Regions from separate parts of the Homo sapiens genome. Here region 1 is linked to region 2. Evidence: promoter capture Hi-C in human tissues and cell types (Jung and others, 2019). All regions are on one chromosome and are shown on one strand. The core of a region is centred on a gene start or on the middle of the fragment in contact, and the rest is flanking DNA. Distances in the headings are between cores, read along the strand shown.

The links. Contacts are between HindIII fragments. The study calls those that stand out against the background at their distance.
Region 1: a fragment that was not itself captured here is called in contact with the fragment with the promoter of ZC3HAV1L in region 2 in 1 of the 25 tissues and cell types used here (thymus).

The regions. Positions count from the first base shown.
Region 1 is chr7:138,984,597-138,990,425 of GRCh38, reverse strand. No RefSeq gene overlaps it. Among named protein-coding and RNA genes, the nearest start is that of KIAA1549, 6.1 kb to the right of the region's middle. The HindIII fragment of the contact is 6,153 bases long and covers 1-5,829 here.
Region 2 is chr7:139,034,575-139,040,001 of GRCh38, reverse strand. It overlaps ZC3HAV1L (ZC3HAV1 like), which reads left to right and starts at 3,960. Exons shown (of 5, transcript NM_080660.4): 1 at 3,960-4,349; 2 at 5,324-5,427. The coding sequence starts at 3,985. It overlaps LOC107986852 (a long non-coding RNA gene), which reads right to left and starts at 3,819. Exons shown (of 2, transcript XR_007060557.1): 1 at 3,631-3,819; 2 at 3,052-3,349. RefSeq lists silencers at 3,668-3,877, 4,128-4,647 and an enhancer at 3,634-4,553. The HindIII fragment of the contact is 9,430 bases long and covers 1,401-5,427 here.

The DNA of each region.
Region 1 (5,829 bases), core at 1,808-4,307, 49 kb after region 2:
CTGGCTGAAGCTGCCATTTCAAAAGAATGACCTGTTGCTGTTGATTCCATCTGCTCTTAGCTCTGAGAATTTGCTCTATCGATGATCCCTCTCTTGGATCTTATTCTCTCGTTGTCTTTGGACACCTCTTAAATCTACAAGGATGTTCAGTCTTACCTATCCTAAAAAATATCTCAACCCTGTTACCCGCCATCTTCTGTGGCCTCCACTACTTCCTAACCCACTCATTCTTTTACCCCTTTTTGTTTGCCTCTCCTCCCCTGCCACCCCCTCACTTCGACACAGTATGAAGGGTCCTCAAAAAATTCAAAGTAAAACTATCCTATGGTCCAGCAATCCCACTATTGGGTATACATTCAGAGGAAATGAAATCAGTTGAAGAGGTATCTGCACCTCCATGTTCACTGCAGCTTATTCACAAAAGCCAAGATATGGAATCAACTTATATGTCCATTGTGGGATGAATGGATAAAGAGAATGTGGTGTATACAGACACAATGGAATACTATTCAGCCTTAAAAAAGAAGGAAATCTTGTTATTTGAGACTGCATGGATGAACCCGGAGGACAAAATGAGCCAGGCACAGAAGGAAAGTCTCTTTTTAACAACTGCATCTGCAAGTCCAAAGAGGTCTTCTCAGTCCTGTTGTCTTTGACATTGACTGTCCTCTCTATTTTAAAACTTGTTTCCCAGGCTGTTGGTGACACCACATTTCCATTGTGCTTCTCCGCTTTCTTTCTAGATCTTTCTCTGCCTTTTTCACGGACTCCTCTTCAGCCTTTCCAAAACGAAGGTCTTTCTCCAGGGCTCTCCTTGGCCCTCTTTTCTTGCCTTCTCCCCTCCCTTTCTAGGCAGTCATTTACTCTCTCATCTTTAGCTAATGACGCCGTATGAATGATTCCATATCTGGAGTCACATCTTCCAAGCCCTCAGCTCACCTTCGCCATCGCTGGCGTCAGCACAGCTCCCTGGTATGGGTCCAGCACCTCACAGCCAACACACTCAGAACCCAACCCTCCATCTTTGCTTCTCACCCAGGCTTTCCAGCTGAATTCCTTTTTTTCCTATCCTTCCACAGATGGTCCAAAATCTCTGAATCATCTTTCATTCTTTCCTCTCCTCATATCTCACCGACTCATTTAGCATCCAGAATGTGTCTCATCCATTTTCTAATTTCCATTCAAACCCACAAAGTTTTTATTTAGAAAAATTTTGAAATACAAAAGCAGTATATGCTGGTGTCAAAAATTCAAATGCTATCTAATCTGTCACAGGAGTGGAGTTAAATAAATGAAAAATAAAGAAAAAAGTTCAGATGATATGATGTGTATTAATCACAGGTAAGATTATTGTAATCAGGTGTATGATTATATGGAGCAAAAAGTGAATTTTCCCCTTCATACATTCACTTCCCAACTCCTCTCTAAACTTGATTTCCTTTCCCAGTAGTAACGACTGTTTACACTCATACTTTTTTAAAAAGTGGGTTTACAATCACAATCCCACTTTTTTTTCATTAGTGGGATTATACTATACAGTATCTTACTCCCCCATGCCCATGTAATATGTGAGTCTTCCATGGAAGAGAATACAAAGTCTAGAAATAAATCCACACATACCTAGTCAATTAATTTTGAGAAAATATAAAGTCAATTAAATGGCAAAAGGATAGTCTGCAACAAATGGTGCTATAACAACTAGACATCACACCCACAAAATTAACTTCAACCCTTTAATCTCACAAAATACATCAAAGTTGACTCAAATGGATCATAGACTGAAACATAAGAGCTAAAACATTAAGTTTCTGGATAGAAACATGAGAGAAAATATTTGTGACCTCGAGCTAGGCAAATATTTTTTAGGACACAAAAAACATGAAACAAAAAAGAAAAAAATAATAAAAAAGTGTATTTCACCAAAGTTAAAAACCTCTTCTCTTTGAATATCTTAAGAGAATGAAAAGACAAGTTATGGACTAGGAGAAAACATTTGCAAAACACACATCGGATAAAAGATTTGTATTTAGAATACATAAATATACAATTTGGTAAGATTTGAACAGACATGCCACCAAAGAAGACATATTGATTGCAAATAAACACATGGAGAGTGTTCAATATCATTAGTCATGAGGACAAGGCAGATTAAGTGCACAATGAGATATCATTAGACACTTGCTAGAATGGTTCAAATTAAAAAGGCTAACAAAATCAAGTGCTAACAAGGGTATGGAACAACTAGACCTTTCATACATTGCTGGTGGGGATCTAAAATATATCCCACCTGGGAAGACAGTTGGGCAGTTTAAATTTACATTTATCACGCCACCCAGTTAAATTTACATTTATCACATGACTTAGCAGATCTACTCCTAGGTATTTACCCAAGAGAAATGAAAACATATGTTCACACAAAATACCTGAAAACAAATGTTTTTAGCAGCATTATTAATAATGACCAAAAACCTGGAAACAATCCAAATGTTCATCAGTTGGTGACTGGACAAATTGTGGTATATCCATTCAATGGAATACTACTAAGCAATAGAAAGGAACAAGTTACTGACGCATGCAACAACTTGGATGAATCTCAGACATTATGCTAAGTAAAAGAAACCAGACACAAAGTGCTACATACTATATAATTCCATTTATGTCAAATGCTGGAAAAGGCAAAGCTGTAGAAACAGAAATCAGATCAGTGGCTGTCAGAGGGAGGGTATGGGATAGACTGCAAGCTGGCACAAGGGAACTTTAAGGGCAATGTAAATGTTCTTTACCTTGAATGTGGTGGTGGTTATAGGATTTCATAGAATTGTTGAAACTCACTGAACATTTTTAAAAGGTGAATTTTCATCAAACTGCTTATGATTGTGGATAGCTTTGTTCTTTGCTTCTTGTGTTTTTCAGTTTCCTGAATTGTACATATTAACTTTTAAAAAATAAAGATTATTTTTAAAACCTGAAAAAAAAAAGGCGAACTTTTATTTATTTATTTATTTATTTTTTGAGACAGAGTCTCGCTCTGTCACCAGGCTGGAGTGCAATGATGTGATCTCTGCTCACTGCAACCTTCGCCTTCCGGGTTCAAGCTATTTTCCTGCCTCAGCCTCCCGACTAGTTGGGATTACAGGCACGCACCACCACACCTGGCTAATTTTTGTATTTTTAGTAGAGACGGGGTTTTGCCAGGTTGGTCAGGCTGGTCTCAAACTCCTGACCTCGTGATCCACCCATCCTGGCCTCCCAAAGTGCTAGGATTACAGGCATGAGCCACCACGCCTGGCCAAAAAAGGTGAATTTTATCTGATTAAATTACCTGACTAAATTTGCCAGCTGAATTAAACTTGACTTGAAAAAAAAAAAAGGAAAAGGAAGTGAGCTGATTTTATATTTTGATAGATAAGGTCAAATTATCCTCCAAAATGGCTACACCAGTAGAATTCGAGAGTGCCTATTTTGCTATACACTTGAATATACAAATGAATATAATCAAAATTTTAAAAGTTTTGTCTGTTTGATGGTGAAAAATATTTTGATCCTTGATATTCATGCAGCAGCATTAAGATCTTGTTCTGGCTAGGTGCAGTGGCTCACGCCTGTAATCCCAGCACTTTAGGAGGCCGAGGCAGGCGGATCTCGAGGTCAAGAGATGAAGACCAGCCTGGCCAACATGGTGAAAACCCGCCTCTACTAAAAATACAAAAAAATTAGCTGGGCGTGGTGATGTGCGCCTGCCGTCCCAGCTACTCGGGAGGCTGAGGCAGGAGAATCGCTTGAACCGGGGAGGTAGAGGTTGCAGTGAGCATAGATTGCGTCACTGCATTCCAGCCTGGTGACAGAGCTAGACTCCATCTCAAAAAAAAAAAAAAAAAAAAAATCTTGTTTTAATTGGTCTCCTCTTTAGTCTTTTCTCTTTCCAAATCATCTTATATAATGTTAATAGAGTAATCCTTCTTGTGCTTAGTTCTAATAATATCTGAACAAATCTTTAATGATCCACCGTCACCTACAAAATTAAGTCCAAACCCTTCAGCCAGATCTTTAAGCTCTCCTTGTTCTATATCAGCTTCCCTTTTCTCTCTTCTCTGCTGCGCCTCTCTAGGTCTGGTATGTCTTACCACTTTCAGTAAGTGATTATAAAGTCTCACTCTTAGACATCTAGCTCAATGGTTCTTACACACTGGAATCCTGGGAAGCTTTTAAAAGACAGGGCTGTCCAAGCCTGGTCTGCAGAGATTTGGATTTTACTGGTCTGAAGTGTGGCCTGGGGGTGTTCTGTTTTGTTTTGTTTGTGGTGTCCAGGTGATTTTAATTTGCAGTCAGCATTGTGAACCACTGCTCTAGCTGATCTGGCCATCAGCTAGATAAATTTCATGCATTCCTGCCTTTATATTTTTGTACTGTTGGTTCCCTCCACCTGGAACACCTGTCCTGTTCTCTTTAGCTGTCCAAGTCCTCTTCATTTTTTAGGCGCCCCCTAACACCCAGCTTCCATGCAACACTACACTGAAGCTTTGCTTGATCTCTTGTGCCAAATATGATTTCTACTTCTTTGAACTTTTTTTTATAACTTCCTTCGGACATCTGTCATGTTCTACTTTGCAATATGTAGGTTTTTAAAATTTGTTTTTTTTTTTCCCGTAAGACTGTAAGCTCCTTGAAAAAACTGTAGACAATTATTATTTTTTTTTTTTTTGAGGCAGGGTCTAGCTCTGTTGCCCAGGCTGAAGTGCACTGGCATGATCACGGCTCACTGCAGCCTTGACCTCCTCAGGCTCAGGTGATCCTCCCACCTCAGCCTCTCGGGTGGCTGGGACTACAGGTGCACGCCACCATGCCTAGCTAATGTTTTGGATTTCTTCATAGAGATGGGAGTCTCACCATGTCGCCCAGGCTGGTCTCAAACTCCTGGGCTCAAGCAATCCACCTGCCTCAGCCTCCCAAAGTGCTAGAATTACAGACGTGAGCCACTGTGCCCGGCCTAATTAATCTTACTGATCATTTAGCACATGACTCTACGGGGCGCTTACTTAGTAGGGACTCAGTAAATATTTTTTGAATGTTTATTCTGGCTACTTCTCCACTTTGCACAGTTGTTCCCTCTGCCTGACACCCTCTTCCCCAGCTATCCCCATGGCCCAATGTCACCTTAGTAGGGTGATCATCCCTGACTATTCTATTTAACACAGTAACACTGACCCTTCCCTCACTCCTTTTCCCTCTTTGTTATTCTGCAAATTGTTGTCATCAGCCGAAGGCTCACTTACTGATTGCCTGTCTCCTCTCACTAGAACATAAGTTCCACGAGGAAGGGCCTTTGTTTTGTTCACCGTTATACCTCCAGTGCCCACTGCACTGCCTGGCATATGGTACATGCTCAAAAAATATTCATTGAATTTAATGAATGACCTTTGTGAACATTCATCTTATTTTGTATAATTCTCTTAAGAACCGAACCCACAGCTAAGCAAGGTAGGCATGTGAAGCCCATCATCAGATAAGAACATTTGAGGTTTGAGAGTAGGGTGAAGCATTTTGTTCAAGTTCATAAACTTTTCTGTGACAGAGCAGAACGCAGAACTCAGCTGTCCTGATTCCTATTCTAGGACTCTCACACTACCCTCTACCGACTTCCAGCCATCCTCTAACTTCAGTCCCTCTGTCCCATCCTTATCCAGACCCTAAGAATTGAGGGGCCCAGGTCAAGAGTGCAAATAGGGGCTCACGCAGCCCATTTCACATTTGGCCATTTTGGCCATTTCACATCGATGACCAGATTTTCATCAGCAAGTTACATGCCAAGCAAGCAAACTATTAAATATG
Region 2 (5,427 bases), core at 2,711-5,210:
GATGCTCTAATCCTTGTCTCCTTTCCTGTTGTGTGAATGGAAGAAGCATCTCCCCTCCTGTCGGAGGTTAGTTCCTCTGACGTCTCCCATTCTATCTCACTGCCTATGGACATCCCCCGCTGATTACAATTCCCCTTTCCTTTATATTCTTTCTTTTTTTCTTCTCTCTCTCCTTCCTTTTCTTTCCTTTCCCTTCCTTCCTACCTTTTTCTGTCGCCCAGGCTGGAGTGCAGTAGCACGATCTTGGCTCACTGCAGCCTCTGACCTCTTAGACTCAAGCAATCCTCCCACCTCAGCCTCCTGAGTAGCTGAGACTACAGGCACATGCCACCATGCCTAGCTAATTTTTGCATTTTTAGTAGAGACAGGGTTCTACCATGTTGCCCAGGCTGATCTCAAACTCCTGGACTCAAGTGATTCTCCTGCCTCAGCCTCCCAAAATGCTGGGACTGCAGGCATGAGTCACCGCACCTGGCCTCCTTTATTTTCAACTTTCCATTCTTACTAGCTCTTTCTTTTCTCTTTGTTTTGTTTTTGAGACGGAGTTTCACTCTGTTCTCCAGGCTGGAGTACAGTGGCACGATCTTGGCTCACTGCAAGCTCCGCCTCCTGGGTTCACTCCATTCTCCTGTCTCTGCCTCCCGGGTAGCTGGGACTACAGGCGCCCGCCACCACGCCTGGCTAATTTTTTGTACTTTTAGTAGAGATGGGGTTTCACCATGTTAGCCAGGATGGTCTCGAACTCCTGACCTCGTGGTCTGCCCGCCTCGGCCTCCCAAAGTGCTGGGATTACAGGCGTGAGCCACCGCGCCCGGTCTTACTGGCTCTTTCTACTCAGCATGTAACTATGCTTGTCTCTCCTATAATAAAATACCTTTCTCAGTCTTGTGTCTTCCTCTTATTATCATTACCTTACTTACTTTTAGAAGTAAAGTCCTCGGTTTTTCTATTCTTCTTTTTTTAACCTACAGAAATCTACCTTTTCTCATTATTCCTCTGAAATAAACCTGCCTAGGTTATCACTGTCTACAAGCTTTCCCTTGTAGGAAAGCTCCTCCCTGTAGTATCTCACCATGCTGATCACTTTCTCCTTGAAACTCTCTCCTCTGCGTGTCCATGAATGACTCTCATTTTTCTCTAACCTCTCCTTATCAGTTTATATGTTAGGCTATGTTCTCTCAGGAGCAATCTGACAAGGATTGAATGCACACAGTTTACTTGGGAGGTGATCCTAAGAAACACTGGCAGGGGAATGGGGAGGTAGGGCAAGGAAAGGAAGGAAGACTGTATGGGGAGTGCTAATGAGCAGGTGTGGCTGTGGGCAACTGGGGTTCAGTTCCATTGAGGAAACATTGGGAGACCATGGAATGTACACCTCCAAGTGGTTCCACACGAGGAATGAGTTGGGCTGTTTGATCCATTGTTGGGGAGGAAAAACTTTTCCTGCACTCTCTTATGTTCAGTTCTGAGGGGCTGCAAATTTAACTGACAAGAGAAAAAACATATATGCATATGGCACTGCACAAAAGAAGTGATGATGATTTATTTACCTAACTTAATAGGGGAGAGAGGGGGGCAAAAAGGCTCCTATGGGAAGAACAAAGGGGTTTCTAGGGAACAAACAGGAGATAAGGAAGTTTGTGTTCATAGGGAAGTTGTTTATGCAGGTGCACGTGGTTTTCTATTTCATGTCCATAAACCCCTGGAGAGGGGATGAATGGCAACCTCACTCCCAGAAGATTCTGCTTTTACTGAAATAAAGGAAGCTTCAAGAAGGCTTCTTTTTGCCTCTATTGAATCTTACATGTCTTTAGTTTAAAATAATCCTCATGCCAATTTTAGGGTTGAGAGTGCATCCTCAAACCACCAATTCCCCAACATCCCTGGATGAAGGCTCTTCCTGGAGGTGTTGGCTCCTTGGTAATTCCAGCCTGCCTTTCCTGCTGGCTGCTTCCTCCTTCTGTTGGAAAAAGCTTAGGCAGAGAGTTCAGGAACAAATGCTGAGTGCCAAGGGGACGTAGGCTACTGCCTATTTTTCTCTTCCCCCACTTGCTTATTTAATGTGGGTATTCGCCAAGCTTCTTTCCCCCCGTCCCCCACCTTTTCACACTCTTCATTTTTGCCAGGTGATCTTATCAACTCTCAGTTACCTAATGCTCTGATGTCACGCAAATCTACATCCCTTCCCTTCTCATGTCCCTCAAGGTCTAGACCTGTATACAGAATACACCTGCCTGTTGAGCGTCTTACCTTGGGTTGTCCACTGCAAACTCTCAACATAAATAACACTGGGGTTATAGTCCCTCAAATCCTGTTTATTTTCTGTTATTCCCCACCTCGTCTTGCTTTTCTAGAAATCCATTCTTCTCATTGCTGCCAGGGGTCTTTCTAAAACACCTATCCTACAATATGGCCAGGTACTATTTTAGGTGGTAGGGATACAGCAATGAACAAAACAAGGTTCCTGCTTTCATGAGCCTGAATTCTATAGCTAAATATATAAATACACAATAAAGAAGAAAAATATCAGTGGTAAGTTCCATGCAGACTGGGGAGCTACTTTAGATTTGAGAGGTCAGGAAAGGTTTTGCTGAAGAGAAGACATTAAAGCTCAGAGCTGAATGACACACCTTGAGTGGCACTCAGGAGACATCCACACTTCCCAGATGAAAATCCTTTAGTGACTTCCCAAAGTTCTCGGGATATAAGTCCAAATTTCACAGCATGGCAGAGAAGGTCTTCTGGCATCTGGCCAGTTGTCTTCCTCTCTAGCTTCTTTACATTACATGACATTAATGCATTTAATCCTCACGAGCACCTTGCAAAATAGCAGCTAGGCTGGCTGAGTTCTCTGATGGTCTGATTCATCTTTGTACTGTCACTGCGTTAGTAGTTGGCTCAACAAACGTTCATGAAACAAGCAAGGTGTTGGACAAAAAGCATGGATGCTTAAGGCAGGTCTAGACTGGTGCTGCTCAACAAAAATAAGGTAATCCACATTTGCAATGTAAAATTTCCTCATAGCTACATTAGGAAAGTAGAAGCAACACATGAAGTTGTCATAACATTTTATTTATCCAAATATATCCAAAATATTATGTTTAACATGTGATTCATATAAAGTTAGTGAGATATTTTACATTCTTTTTCTCATTCTCAGTCCTCAAAATCTAGTGTGTGTATTTCACACTTATATCACATCTCAATTCGGACTAGCCACTTTCCAATAAAGCTCAGCAGGCCCCGCGGGGTGGCTCACGCCTGTAATTCCAGTGCTCTGGGAGGCTGAGGCAGGTGGATCGCTTGAGGAGTTCGAGACCAGCCTGGGCAACATGAGGAGACCCCGTTTCTACAAAGCAAAACAAAAACCAAAAAAATTAGTGATGCGAACCTTCGGTCTCAGCTACTCAGGAGGCTGAGGTGGGAGGATCGCTTGAGCCCAGGAGTTCCAGGCTGCAGCGAACTACGATAGCGCCACTGCACTCCAGCCTGGGCGATAACGTGAGGCCTTGTCTCCAAAAATAAAAATACAACAACAACAAAAAATCCCAGAAGTGCTCAGCAGCCACATGTGGCTAGTGGCCACCTCCCGCGAAGCAGCCCGGCCACTCACCTCCTACCACCTTTTACCTATTTCTCCTTCTCCGCAGGCCTCCCTAGCACTACCAGTTGTCTTGTTGGCGAGTCCTTTGTGACTCCCACTATACAAGCCCCTCAAGGCCAGGCTTCGCCCTGAACGGTGCCTGGGCGGAGCAGACGCTCCATCAACGCTGTCCCCGCCTGAGTCCACGTCCAGGGGATCCGCAGGCGCCGTACCCTGCTTCCACGCGCCGGGGCCGCCCCTCGCCCGGCCTCCCGCAGGCCCACCCCTCGCCAGGCCCAGGCCCATCCCCGGGCTGTTCGCTGGAAATCGTGGACGTGACTGGGAGGAGCCTGCCCGCCCCGGCTCGCTGCGCCGCGCGCACAGGGCCCGCGCCAGCGACCATGGCGGAGCCCACAGTGTGCTCCTTCCTCACCAAGGTGCTGTGCGCCCACGGCGGCCGCATGTTCCTGAAGGACCTGCGCGGCCACGTGGAGCTGTCGGAGGCCAGGCTCCGGGACGTGCTGCAGCGCGCCGGGCCCGAGCGTTTCCTGCTGCAGGAGGTGGAGACGCAGGAGGGCCTCGGGGACGCGGAGGCCGAGGCGGCGGCCGGCGCGGTGGGCGGTGGCGGCACCTCCGCCTGGAGGGTGGTGGCCGTGTCCTCTGTGCGCCTCTGCGCCCGCTACCAGCGCGGCGAGTGCCAGGCCTGCGACCAGCTGCACTTCTGCCGCCGGCACATGCTGGGCAAGTGCCCCAACCGGGACTGCTGGTGAGAAGGCGGCGGCGGGCGGGGACTGTGGGCGCTGGCCGCGGGCCTGGCCGTCCTGCTGGAAGCGGGAGCGACGGGAAGGGGGGCTTCGTCCTGCCCCGGGCCGGGGACGCGGGGCTGGACGACCCCCTCCCGCAGGCCTTTCCTGGGCGTCCTCCCCCGCGCTTCCAGCAGCTGGGCGGAAAGGCGCGAAGGTCCTCTCCATGGAGACGTCTCAACCGCCCACGCCAGAAAAGTTGCTGCCCCCGCCCGCCCCCCCGGATCCTGCGCGACGCGGCCGGGTTAAATCCGGACTGGGACTTCGGAGCTCACTTATTCTGGTGATATTTGGCGGGAGGTGGGGGGCGTGGGGCGTCTGAGGATCCCATGAGATCCCTGGACCCTTTAGCCGGAAATCGCTGCTCCCCCATATCCACACACTTGTGCAGAAGCGGGTCTGCGCCCTCTAGGTTTAACAGCGCTGAGCCAGTCTCACCCCAGGAAACAGGGCTGGATGGCTTGGGTGAGGCCCTGTGGTTCCTGACTGCCAGAGCTGGGGTTCGGGGCTGCCTCCTGACCCCAGGCTGTGCTTCACAGCCCCGAATTTTCCTTGGTTGTCTCTAGCCACACACCCCGCCAAAGCGGTGCTGGGGATAGGGGCGCTTTCTTTTTAACGTTGGTGGACTGTGGCAGCTGTTGCCGGGGAGAAGGCCAGGTGCAGTCGCCTACGGAACAGATGTGCATCCTCAGGCGAGGTGGGCGACCCTTGGCTTCAAAGCATCCCTACTGAAAATTCAAATGACCCTGGGAGAGGAGTTCCTTCAACCCAATTTTCTTATTTTCCATCAGTGCTTATTAGGCCATACTATCCCCGGTTTCATGAAAATTACTCAACTTCACATGTATTAAATACATTGAAAGCTGCTCAAGGCAAGGAATTGGACAGACTGGTCCTTCTTCACCTGGGCATCTGACCGAGGGCTTTGTTCTTTTAGGTCTACCTGTACCCTTTCCCATGATATCCACACACCTGTCAACATGCAGGTCCTGAAAAGCCATGGACTTTTTGGTCTCAATGAAAACCAGCTTCGGATCCTGC